4 separate regions of the Homo sapiens genome follow, and regions 2, 3 and 4 are each linked to region 1. The links are contacts of gene promoters, found by promoter capture Hi-C in blood cells and fetal thymus (Javierre and others, 2016). All regions are on one chromosome and are shown on one strand. Each heading gives the region's core, a stretch centred on a gene start or on the middle of the fragment in contact. The rest is flanking DNA. Distances are from core to core; before and after follow the strand shown.

Region 1 (2,966 bases), core at 467-2,966:
ATTTATTATTACAATAAATACTTAATAATTGCTAATTACCCTGATCTGATAATAAATGTATTCAAAGTATCACTATGTACCCCATATAATATGCAATTGTTAGGTGTCAATTAACTAAATACTAGCACTTTGGGGATTAAAGAAAAAATAAAAACAAAGTAGGAATTATCCATATTTTGAGAAATAGATTAATGAAAACTGTACAGATAACAACAGAAGAATAACACTTTCTGAGCTCTGATTTTGTGGCAAACATTTTTTAAGGGATTATCGTGGATTAAATCAATGAACCTCTCTCCTCCAGGATTTAGGGGCTATTAACACAGCCATTTCAGTTAATTTGCCTGGAGGTCTCCGACGCTCTTAAACCCTCCATTTTATAAGGAAAAATGTAGTTACAAACCGTTATTTTCCTAAAGTCCACATGTATCATCATTCATCTGGTTCTAACAATACTCATTTTAAATTTGCTTAACTCGCAAATTTAGTTTTCCTTTTCAAAAACAGTGTACAAATTATTTTGTTCTCCAATTTTAGCAATCAATTTAAGGGGATCTTTGATTAATGTTTGACCAACCCGAATTAAACAAACTAAATTCCTTTAAATAATTATCCTATTCCAAATTAAGTCTTCTTAAAAGGTTTATACCTTTCAGCATCTACTAATCTGGTTCCTTTTAAGTACTGAAACTTTCCTCATGACCTTTAGAATTCCCAGCCAAATAAATTAAATCTTAACACTGGTGGAGCTCACATTGTTAAAACTTAGCAATTTAAATAGAAATCCATAGACTTACTCTTCAGAATTAAAGTGCAAACTACTTAGAGATCATAAATACTTTTAATATCAGATAAATCATTAAGAAATTGCATTCTGTACTTGATGACCACACGGGAACCTTGCTAGAGTCAAGAGAACTTGTCACTAGTAATTATGAAGACACCTTTACGGTGAGCGTTATTAAAACCCTACTAGAGGTTTTGGGTGGGACTCAAGAGCAAGGGGTGGCCACCTGTGGACGAGGGTTCCCTGTTGTTAACAGAACACGTTGCCCACCTCGCAAGTATGCAGCCCAATCAGTCCCCAGGGTCTCGGTTCCCGTTGCGCCCTTCCCCATGGCCACTGCGCTCATTCATGAGCCTAGGGTGATCAGGCCTCCGGCCTATAAAGAACTGCAGGATCAGTGCGGCTCTTTTCTCGAGATAGTAGGTGGCTCTGAAAAGAGCCTTTATGTCCATCAAAGGGGCCCCGGGGGCGGCGGGCGGCCTCACTTGCCCTTGGCCTTGTGGTGGCTCTCCGTCTTCTTGGGCAGCAGTACGGCCTGGATGTTGGGCAGGACGCCACCCTGCGCGATGGTCACGCGGCCCAGCAGCTTGTTGAGCTCCTCGTCGTTGCGGATGGCCAGCTGCAGGTGGCGCGGGATGATGCGCGTCTTCTTGTTGTCGCGCGCCGCGTTGCCGGCAAGCTCCAGGATCTCGGCAGTCAAGTACTCGAGCACCGCGGCCAGATAGACCGGGGCGCCGGCGCCCACGCGCTCCGAATAGTTGCCCTTGCGGAGCAACCGGTGCACGCGGCCCACGGGGAACTGCAGCCCCGCGCGCGACGAGCGCGACTTAGCCTTGGCGCGCGCCTTGCCACCCTGCTTACCACGACCGGACATTTCCGAGTCAAGGAAAAAAGACAACGGCAACCGAAAAGCGAGACTAAAAACAAGAGGGCAGTGAAGGCCAGCGAGCCCTTATGTATGGTACAGAGGTAGGCTAGACCGCGGCGTTCGATTGGATGGCTATGGTAGCCAATCAGAAAAAGAACCTGGCACTCCTAATTTGCGTATTCCTTTCCCAGCGATGACGTAGAACAACGTTTGATCCAATCAGAAGTGAGCAAATCCTGAGCCTTCATTTGAATACAAAACGTACAAATAGAGTTACTCCGAGCGCCGCGCGTTTCTGTTTGGAGAGACTCAGCCATCATGCCAGACCCGTCCAAATCGGCTCCTGCGCCCAAGAAGGGTTCTAAAAAGGCTGTCACCAAGGCACAGAAGAAGGACGGCAAGAAGCGCAAGCGCGGCCGCAAGGAGAGCTATTCTATCTACGTGTACAAGGTGCTGAAGCAGGTGCACCCCGACACCGGCATCTCGTCCAAGGCCATGGGCATCATGAACTCCTTCGTCAATGACATCTTCGAGCGCATCGCCAGCGAGGCCTCCCGCCTGGCACACTACAACAAGCGCTCCACCATCACGTCCCGCGAAGTGCAGACGGCCGTTCGCCTGCTGCTGCCCGGCGAGCTGGCCAAGCACGCCGTGTCCGAGGGCACCAAGGCTGTCACCAAGTACACCAGCTCCAAGTGAGGCGTTCCTCGGCGTCCTGAACCCAAAGGCTCTTTTCAGAGCCACCCACACGATCAAGAAAGGGTTTCGAACACGGTGAAGGGTTATGTAACCTAATGTGTCTCCATGCACCCTAGCGGTTGCCGGGTGCGGCCGAATCTGAGCCGTGTGTGTGTGTGTGTGTGTGTGTGTGTGCGCGCGCGCGCCGGCACAGAACGAGAAAAACTGCTCGTTACAGAAATCGGGGTAGAAACTGCTCAGGTGATGTAGCTCAGTAATGTTGGGAGGCGATCAAGGACCCCCTCTCCATCCCCTCCCTCCGCGCAGAGCTATTAACTCACGACGAGATTTCTTTTTTTTTTCTTTCTTTCTTTTTTTTTTTTTTTTTTTCTAGAAGAAGTCTCGCTCTGTCTCTAGGCTGGCGTGCAGTGGCGCAATCTGGGCTCACTGCAACCTCCGCCTCCTGGGTTCAAGCGATTCTCCTGCCTCAGCCTTACGAGTAGCTGGGATTACAGGCACGCCCCACCACGCCTGGCTAATTTTTTGTATTTTTAGTAGAGACGGGGTTTCACCATGTTGGCCAGGATAGTCTCGATCTTCTGACCTGGTGATCCATCCGCCTCTGCCTCCCAA
Region 2 (2,966 bases), core at 253-2,752, 510 kb before region 1:
GAGTCACCGCGGACCTGTGGCCCTCCCTCCTGCCCTCCCGGGTGAGGCTACGGGTTGCACAGATGGCGTGCAGTGGCGTGCCAGCCCAGGCCCAGGGCCGTACCCACAGTTGGAGCCAGGAGAGGGCTGCGGGTGGGGGCCCCAGGGAACTGAGACACCGGGCTGACCCTGGAAGACGACCCAGAAGAAAGGAACAGAGAGAAGAAAGGGAGAGAAAGAAAAACACAAAGGGAAAGTTTCCCATGAAAATATTTTATTTTCTTTGAGAACAGGATACACCTGCAGGGCTCCTCGGCCCAGGCGGCCTCTCCCTGCCCGGGCGGGTGCCAGATTCCTGGACCAACGGGGCCCTCTGCCGGCCAGCCCGCCGCGCGCTGGCGCTCAGGCCAGAGGGCCGGGAACAGGTGACCGGCGGAGGGCGGCGGCCCGGCTGAGGGAGCGGCCCAGGGCGTCCAGGTCGGGGGCTGGGATCCGAAGGCCAGCCAGGGCTCCCAGCGGCGGCGCTCGGGGTAGGAGGCTGGAGGGTGGCGGGGAGGCCCGGGGCGCTGCCTCGCACGGCGCCACCCTGCACCTCAGCGCGCCCAAAGCGCAGCGAGGGTCCCTGTAAAGGTCGCAGGACTGGGCATCCCAGACCTCAGAGAGGGGGAGGGAAGAAGGAAGGGAAAGAAAGGAAGAGAGAGACGCGCCGACAGCCCGGCAAAGCGCTGCTGCAGAGACACGTGAGCACGGGCAATGACACCGCGGGACGCCCCGGCCGGGCCCTGCGCTCCCGGCCAGGTTCCATGGACGCGCTCCCGCGGGCCGGGGCCCGGGCCACAGAGTCAGAAGCAAAGCGCAAGAAAAATAAATTCCTCCAGCTTGGAGGATTTCTCTCTTTCTCTCTCTCTCTCCGTTTGGGGCTCAGCGCGAGGAACATCTGGATTTTGTACGTATTTTTGTTATTGTTAAATTAACTTCTCGAGAAGAGAAAGGGGGGGAAGCTGCTAGGTGGGCGATGGCCAGGGGCTGAGGACTCAGGCTCCAGCCTTTTGGCAAGGACACGGCGGCCCAAGGAAGTCGGGACCTGATCCCAGTCCCTAAGCGCGAGGCAGTCCTGCTCACGGCGGCGACTACGACGACGACGACTCTGCGGTCACGGAGGACCGCGGCCCGGCGCAAGCCGGACGGGTCCACCCGCCTCTCTAGCCGTGCCGCGCAGCGGACGGAGCGACGCGCGCGCCGCAAACAAACAGCGCCAGGCAACCCGGCGGCCCCGCCGCGCCCCGGCCCCAGCCACCCCGGGTGCCTCGGGGACTCCGGACGACCCCGCCCCGGCCCCGCCGCCCCCGCCCACCAGTGCGCGCCGGCCGCCGAAGGCACCTACCCGAAGTAGGCGGCCGAAGGGCGCAGCGCGGCGAGCAGCAGCGTCAGCCCGAAGGCCGCGGCCAGCCAGCGCGCCAGCGGGGACCCATCCAGCATCTTGCCGCGCCTCGGCGGCCGACCATCGCGCTCCCAGCTCCGCGCAGGGCGCGCCGCGGCCGCCGCCCTCTTATAGCGCCCGGAGCGCGGCCAGCTGGGCCCGGCCCCGCCCCGCGCCCGGGAGGGGATCACGCCGGCGCCGGGGGCGGGCCGAAACCCGAGCCGCGCGCGCCAGCCCGCCAGCCCCTCCCGGCCACTCGGGGCCCCGGCCGCCGCTCCCGGCGCGGGTCTCGGGCGCGCCCTGCCCGGCGGGGATGGAGGAAGGGGAGGCGGAGAGCGGTGGGAACCGAGGGCGGGGCGTGCGAGAACCCGGGGCGACCACGGCGGGACGGCATTGGGGGGCCGGAGGCGGGCATCGGGAAGCGGGTAGAGCGTTGGGGGCGCTGCAGTGGGAGCTTGGGGCGGCCCCCGGGGCGGGATTGAGGGGGAGGGGAGGGGAGGCGTTGGCCGCCGGGCTAGCCGCCGGCGGGGCTCCAGGCCGGGACGGTCGGGGATGGTTCCACAGAGGACCCAGCCGTCTGCCCCGAGCTGGGCGCTGCGCGGCTGCTCCGGGGGAAGCTTGGTGAGGAGGAGTCGGGCCAGCCGGTGATGCCTGCGCCTCTTGCGCATGCTGACCCCCTCAAGGAGCGGGGCCAGAGAATCGCTCCTTTCTGGCAGGGACTGTGGCCGCTTTCGGCCTGGGAATGAAGCGACGTAGCCTGCTGGGGCTGTGAGGTGAGTAGCTCTACCTTTTGGGGTCCTGATGGTCTCCCCATTCTTAAATTGTGGGAGTGGAGCTAGCGGCTAAGTCAATGAAACACCAGCCATCGGGCAACGCCCTTCTCAGAGCCTGTGTCCTGGCCGGGACGGGGAGAAAGAGGACTCCTGGGATGGAAGGTGCACACCCAGGCAGCTGGAAGCGCTCAGTCACAGCCCGGGGACTCGTCCCCTCTGCGATACGGATTCGGAGCTGCTTCTGAAGCAGAATGGTGTCAGAGGACCCAGAGCTGGCATTAGGATACAGGTGCACACATTCCAGACAGACCTGGGGGTGGCATCCAGGAGAAGGCTTATAAGTTCCCTGGATGGGGCCTCTGTGCCATGCAACAAGGGACACAAGAACAGGGCTTGGGGTCCAGGCTGGCGGTGGCATGCCTGCCACCTGCAGACCCTGGTCAGTGCAGGATGGTGCCTCCAACACGGGCTAGGCTGCCAAGGCTGAGGACACAGGGCCAGCGAGCCTGCCCAGCCACGTGCTGCAGGGGCCTCAGAGACCTGGGCTGCGGTGCCAGGTCTCTAGGCAGTGCCCTCTGTGCCTGCAGGGACTGATTCTGGCACAGTGACCGCAGAACCTGGGGGGCGGAGCACATGCCCCCGGAAGGCTGTGAAATCCCGCCAGTGGCAGTGACAGAGGCGAATATGAGGGTCCTCAGAGGAAAAACAAAGAAGATAGGAGCAGCAGAAAATGGCCCCCACGAGGATCTGAGCCAACCTCGCCACCCCTAGGGCTCCCGGCCCTGCTTCCCTGG
Region 3 (2,966 bases), core at 278-2,777, 460 kb before region 1:
AAAGAGACAGAGAAAACAATTCCAAAAGCTACAGTTATCAAAACAGTATGGTACAGGCATAAAGACAAACATATAGAACAATGAAACAGAATAGAGAGCCCATAAATAAACTCTCATGTACACAGCCAAATGATCTCCAACAAGACTGTCAAATCCATACACTAGAGAAACAATGCACTCTTCGATAAATGGTGTTGGGAAAAATGGAGATGCACATGCAAAAGAATGAAGTTGGACTCTAAGTTTACACCATAAACAAAAATTAACTCAAAATGGATTAGAGACCTAAACTTAAGACCTGAATCTATAAAATTTCAGAAGAAAATGTAGAAAATTTGACATTGGATTTTGCAATGGTTTCTTGAATATGACACCAAAAACACAGGCAACAAAGGCAAAAATAGACAAATGGGACTAGATCAGACTTTAAAACTTCTGCACAGCAAAGGAGACAATCAACAGAGAAGACAACTTACAACATGAAGAATGGGAGAGAATACTTGTAACACATATATTTTGATAAAGATTAATATCAACAATATATCTAAAAACTCTTACAACTCTTCAACAACAAGCACAACCAAATAACTTGACTAAAAAATGGGCAAAGGACTTGAATAGATGATTCTCAAAAGAAGACATACAAATGGCCAATAGGCACATGGAAATATGCTCAACATCCTAATCATAGGGAAATGCACATCGAGACCAATGAGATACCATCTCACACTCCTTAGGATGGCCACTATAAAGAAAACAAAAACAGAAAACATCAAGTGTTGGCAAAGATGTGGAGAAATTGGAACCTTTATGCACTGTTGGTGGGCACGTAAAATGACACAGTTGCTATAGAAAATAGTATGGAGGTTTTCTGCAAGATTAAACATAGAATTACTGAGCCAGGCAGGGTGGCTCACGCCTGTAATCCCAGCACTTTGGGAGGCCGAGGCGGGTGGATCACGAGGTCAGGAGATCGGGACCATCCTGGCTAACACGGTGAAACCCTGTCTCTACTAAAAATACAAAAAATTAGCCGGGCGTGGTGGCGGGCGCCTGTAGTCCCAGCTACTCAGGAGCCTTAGGCAGGAGAATGGCGTGAACCTGGGAGGTGCAGTTTGCAGTGAGCCGAGATTGCGCCATTGCACTCCAGCCTGGGCGACGCAGAGAGACTCCGTCTCAAAACAACAACAAGAAAAAAATACAAAATTAGCTGGGCATGGTGGCGCATTCCTGTAATCCCAGTTACTTGGGAGACTGAGGCAGGAGAATCACTTGGACCTGGGAAGCGGAGGTTGCAGTGAGCCAAAATCATGCTGTTGAGCTCCAGCCTGGACAACAAGAATGAAATGCTATCTCAAAAAATAAACATAAATAAATACATAAATAAATAAAAATAGAATTACCATATTATCCCTCAATCCCACTCTGGGTATAGATCCAGAGAACTGAAAACAGGATTTTGAAGAGATATTTGCACATCCATGTCCATTGCAGCATTAATTACGGTAGCCAAGGGGTGGAAGCAACCTAAATATCAGTTGACATAGGAATGGATACACACATACACACGCACATGATATATAGTATATATACAAATGTGATATGTGATATATACAAATGTGATATATATACACAAATGTGACATATACATATATACAAATGTTGGCTGGGCACAGTGGCTCACGCCTGTAATCCCAACATTTTGGGATGCTGAGTCAGGTGGATCACCTGAGGTCAGGAGTTTGAAACCAGCCTGGCCAACATAGTGAAACCCCCTCTCTACTAAAAATACAAAAGTTAGCTGGGCGTGGTGGCATGTGCCTGTAATCCCAGCTACTTGGGAGGCTGAGGCAGGAGAATCAGGAGAATTGCTTGAACCTGGGACGCAGAGGTTGCAGTGAGCCGAGGTTGCACCGCTGCACTCCAGCCTGGGCGACGGAGTGAGACTCTGTCTCAAAAAAGAAAAAAAAAGTTATATATACGCATATATAAAAATGTGATGTGTGTATATATATATATGTATATATAAATGTAATATATATTATGTATATATATGAATGAGATATATACAGTTGGCCCCTCAACAACATGGATCTGAACTGCATGAGTCACTTACACTCAGATTTTCTTCTGCCTCTGCCACCCCTGAGACACCAAGACCAAGCCCTCTCTTCCTCCTCCTCCTTACTATATTGTAAGAATACAGTATATAATACATATACAAAATATGTGTTAACTGACTGTTTGTGTTATTGGCAAGGCTTCTGTAGTTAAATTTGGGGGAGTCAGAAGTTATACATGGATTTTCAACCATGCAAGGGTTGGCATGCCCTCGGTTAGTATGGTCACTATGAAGAAAACAAAAATAGAAAACAGCAAGTGTTGACTGCAGAATGAAAAGGCACCCTACAAAATGGAAGAAAATACTTGCAAATTATATATCTGCTATGGGATTAATATCCAGAATATATAAATAACTCCTACAACTCAACAACAAAAAACCAATTTAAAAATCAGCAAAGGACTTGAACAGACATTTTTCCAAAGAAGATACATAAATGGCCAATAAGCCACACTGGAGGAGGTTGAAGAGACATGACGGCTAAATGCAATGCATGATTCTGACCAAGACACTCTTTCTTTTTTTTTTTTTTTTTTTCTGAGGTGGAGTCTCGCTCTGTCGCCCGGGCTGGAGTGCAGTGGCGCCATCTCGGCTCACTGCAAGCTCCACCTCCCGGGTTCACGCCATTCTCCTGCCTCAGCCTCCCAAGTAGCTGGGACTATAGGTGCCCGCCACTACGCCCGGCTAATTTTTGTATTTTTAGTAGAGACGGGGTTTTGCCGTGTTAGCCAGGATGGTCTCGATCTCCTGACCTCGTGATCCACCCGCCTCGGCCTCCCAAAGTGCTGGGATTACAGGCGTGAGCCACCACGCCCGGCCCAAGACACTCTTTCTAAACAAGGCT
Region 4 (2,966 bases), core at 256-2,755, 330 kb before region 1:
TTGCTAGAGCAGCTCACAGAATTCAAACACTTAGGTTTCCTGGTTTATTATAAAGCATACAGATGAACGGATGCACAGGGCGAGTTATGGGGCTGAAAGCTCCACGCTTTCTGTGGGTCAGCCACCCTCCATGAACCTCCACGTGTTCAGCTACCCAAGCTCTCCAAACCTAGTCTTTTTGGGGTGTTTATGGAGGCTTCATTACTTAGGCATGATTGACTAAATCACTGGCCATAGGTACTCAGTTTAACCTTCAGTCCCTTTCCCCTCCCCAGACATGGGGAGGTGGGGATGAGGCTGAAAATTCCAATCCTGCCTTGATCTTTTCAGTGACCAGCCCCATTCTGAAGCTACCTAGGGGCTGCCAGCCACCAGCCAACTCATTAGCATACAAAAAATCACTTACTTATAGAGATTTCAAGGACTTCAGGTGTTGTATGCCAGGAAAGACCTTTCACCCTCAAGATTTGCTGAAAATCATCTGACAAAACAGCGATGAATATATATGACACACAAATTTATTAATATGATGGGAGAAAATCTCAGAGTGACTACCCCACCACTGAGTGGGGTACAGATGGTTACTTGCCCTTAAGGGCAAGGGAGATGGGGAAGCATAAATGATTTTAGGAGCTCAGTAAATGATTTTTAGGGGAGTTCAATGGGCTTGAAGAACATACAATGGCCTCCACGAAGTCTGTTGGGCTCAGAGGGTAGACGGTGGTTTGTGACATCTGTCCAGGTGGACTGACTTCAGACTTTCTCCCTGCAATATGAATTCAGTTAATAAAAACTCAGGGAAGGGACCAGAGATAATTGTTTCCTTCTTTAGGCAGATAAGGGAGCTTCAGAGAACAACTTTATCCTGTGCTTTGGGAGAGACAGAGAATTGGGAGACATGAGGTGGGGAAGGTCAGAGAGACCTTGCAGCTTCTTCATTTCTGCATGTCAAAGCGCCATATTTTGGGGATATCTGTTTCTGAGCCCCCAAAATGGAGACAAAGCCTAAATATGTATATTTCACAATATCATACATGCATACCTTTGGTTGCAATCTTTTGCTATTCTCAAATAAAATGTTTTCTTTTAGGAAGCCAGTCTTTCTAAGGCTGACAACCCAAGGGGGTGGCATGGGTTGACTTAAGCCAGGCCTGCACAGTGGTGACCTAAGTCACTGCAGGGGCAAGTGGGGTGGGCCAGTGCAGAGCTGTGACATAAGCAGGTGACTTTCCCTATCAGAACTTTCAGTTAAGTCACTTCCATGGAAGAAGGGGCTCTTCTATGAAGAGCCTCTGTAACAGTACTGACTCCATGTTAGAGGAAAGCTTGCTTGCTTGAATACAATTATTGCTTTGCTTGAGTCTTTAGATTATTCACTAAAAACAGCCTCAGAAAAAGAGGACCTTCAACAGAGATTTTTTAAAATGTGCCAACCAACAGCTCTGGGAATGAATTGGCCGGCCTGACCATACCCACAGAAGGCCACAAAGCATTGACCAAGAAGGCAAGGATTAAATGCCCACCTGAGAATGCCCACGTTTCACAAGAATGTTTTCATTATTCTCCCTAATTTCCCTTAAAAACCCCTGATTTAGAAGCATGACTCAGAAAGGTGATCTTTGAACCCTAGTTCACTGCCTTCCCTGGGTTGCTGGCTTCTTGAATAAAGCTAACTTTCCTTTCACCAAAGCTTGTCTCTTGAGTTTTTGCCTTTCAAGCTACAAGTGGCCCAGACCTGAGTTCAGTTACACCTCTGCTAGCAACAGCCAGCACCACCAATGAACAAACACTGCCTGCAATAAGCCCCTGTGAACAGTAATTTATGTTTCAAAATATCTTACATGCACTTACTCTTTTTTGCCTTCAAAAGCTTCCTCTTGCCCCAACCCCTCAAATATGCTTATGGTCCACAAAAGCACATGCATCCCAGATTGCAATTCCTTGGCTATTAGCAAGTAAACTCTTTGTTTTGAGAACTGGTCTCTCTTGCTCATTTTGATACTGTAGGTAGTTAGGCAGACATGAGCAGGGCAGGAGAGGCCCTCCCCCAAACCAGGAATGTCAGACAATCACCAGGTGATAATCAGGCAGTTGCTAAACTGTTGCTTTAAAATAATTGATTGCAGCTGGTGCCAGGGAAAGCTGTGTCCTAATAGATAGATAACACCTGAAGCTGTTAATCAGCAGCTTCCAAATAAGATCTTAGGAGTTGGGTGAGTGGGGTCAAGCATGAGCACTAAGAGGCAAAATGGCAGAGTTTAACTGGTGTATGACCTTCCTCTAGGAACACTCAACTGGTAAGGGAAGAATGCCTCAGATGAGCATGCATACAACTCCAGTAAACACACTGTGCATGTGGCCCCTCCCAAGTGCTGGCAGGCCACTGAGCATGTAGACCGCCCACCCTAAGGGAAGAATCAGGGGAGAAGAGATGCAAGATCTCAGAAACATGCCAATGTATAAGACCCCAAGTCAAAGGTCAAATCGTGCACTTGAATCTCTCAAGTTGCCCTCATGGTCCTCTTTCGAGTGTACTTTACTTCCTTTCGTTCCTGCTCTAGAACTTTTTAATAATAAACTTTCATTCCTGCTCTAAAATTTGCCTTGGTGTGTCAAGAATTCAGGTTGGTGCAGACCCATACAGATTCACCACTGCTAACAATTTCAGGTTGACACAGAAAGGAGGAGCTTTTCCCAGATCGGCAACCTCTGGAACCATATGCAGTACCCACCTGAGTCCATTGCACTCTCAGCTTCCATGAGTAATCTTTATTCTGTGTGGTTTAGTTCTATCTTGTATTCAAACTCCCTTTTGGTTGAACTCTCTGACTTTATTCAGGATTTGTTTCTATTGACACTGCGTCCTTTCTTGTGTGTTCTGCACTGGAACAGCCTACATGCAAAAGGCCGGGGGAGCTGAGAGGCTGAAGAAAGAGGCTGAAAAATCTGAAATCTCAGAAAAAAAA

The links. Contacts are between HindIII fragments. The CHiCAGO score rates a contact against its expected background, and 5 or more counts as called.
Region 2: a contact is called between the fragment with the promoter of WNT9A here and the fragment with the promoter of H2AC25 in region 1, in 1 of 17 cell types (total B cells). The highest score is 5.0, in total B cells.
Region 3: a contact is called between a fragment that was not itself captured here and the fragment with the promoter of H2AC25 in region 1, in 2 of 17 cell types (M2 macrophages and neutrophils). The highest score is 10.3, in M2 macrophages.
Region 4: a contact is called between a fragment that was not itself captured here and the fragment with the promoter of H2AC25 in region 1, in 11 of 17 cell types (total CD8 T cells, naive CD8 T cells, naive B cells and 8 more). The highest score is 8.7, in total CD8 T cells.

What each region holds. Positions count from the first base shown.
Region 1 is chr1:228,456,157-228,459,122 of GRCh38, forward strand. It overlaps H2AC25 (H2A clustered histone 25), which reads right to left and starts at 1,717. Exons shown (of 1, transcript NM_033445.3): 1 at 1,208-1,717. The coding sequence starts at 1,661. The coding sequence ends at 1,269. It overlaps H2BC26 (H2B clustered histone 26), which reads left to right and starts at 1,947. Exons shown (of 1, transcript NM_175055.3): 1 at 1,947-2,402. The coding sequence starts at 1,974. The coding sequence ends at 2,354. RefSeq lists enhancers at 1,840-2,426, 2,427-2,966. The HindIII fragment of the contact is 12,626 bases long and covers 1-2,966 here.
Region 2 is chr1:227,946,430-227,949,395 of GRCh38, forward strand. WNT9A (Wnt family member 9A) reads right to left here and starts at 1,503. Exons shown (of 4, transcript NM_003395.4): 1 at 1,364-1,503. The coding sequence starts at 1,458. It overlaps LOC124904533 (a long non-coding RNA gene), which reads left to right. Exons shown (of 2, transcript XR_007066912.1): 2 at 273-874. RefSeq lists silencers at 325-434, 1,538-1,617 and an enhancer at 1,408-1,457. The HindIII fragment of the contact is 8,120 bases long and covers 1-2,014 here.
Region 3 is chr1:227,991,391-227,994,356 of GRCh38, forward strand. No RefSeq gene overlaps it. Among named protein-coding and RNA genes, the nearest start is that of WNT3A, 14 kb to the right of the region's middle. The HindIII fragment of the contact is 7,402 bases long and covers 1-2,966 here.
Region 4 is chr1:228,122,089-228,125,054 of GRCh38, forward strand. No RefSeq gene overlaps it. Among named protein-coding and RNA genes, the nearest start is that of MRPL55, 14 kb to the left of the region's middle. The HindIII fragment of the contact is 365 bases long and covers 1,324-1,688 here.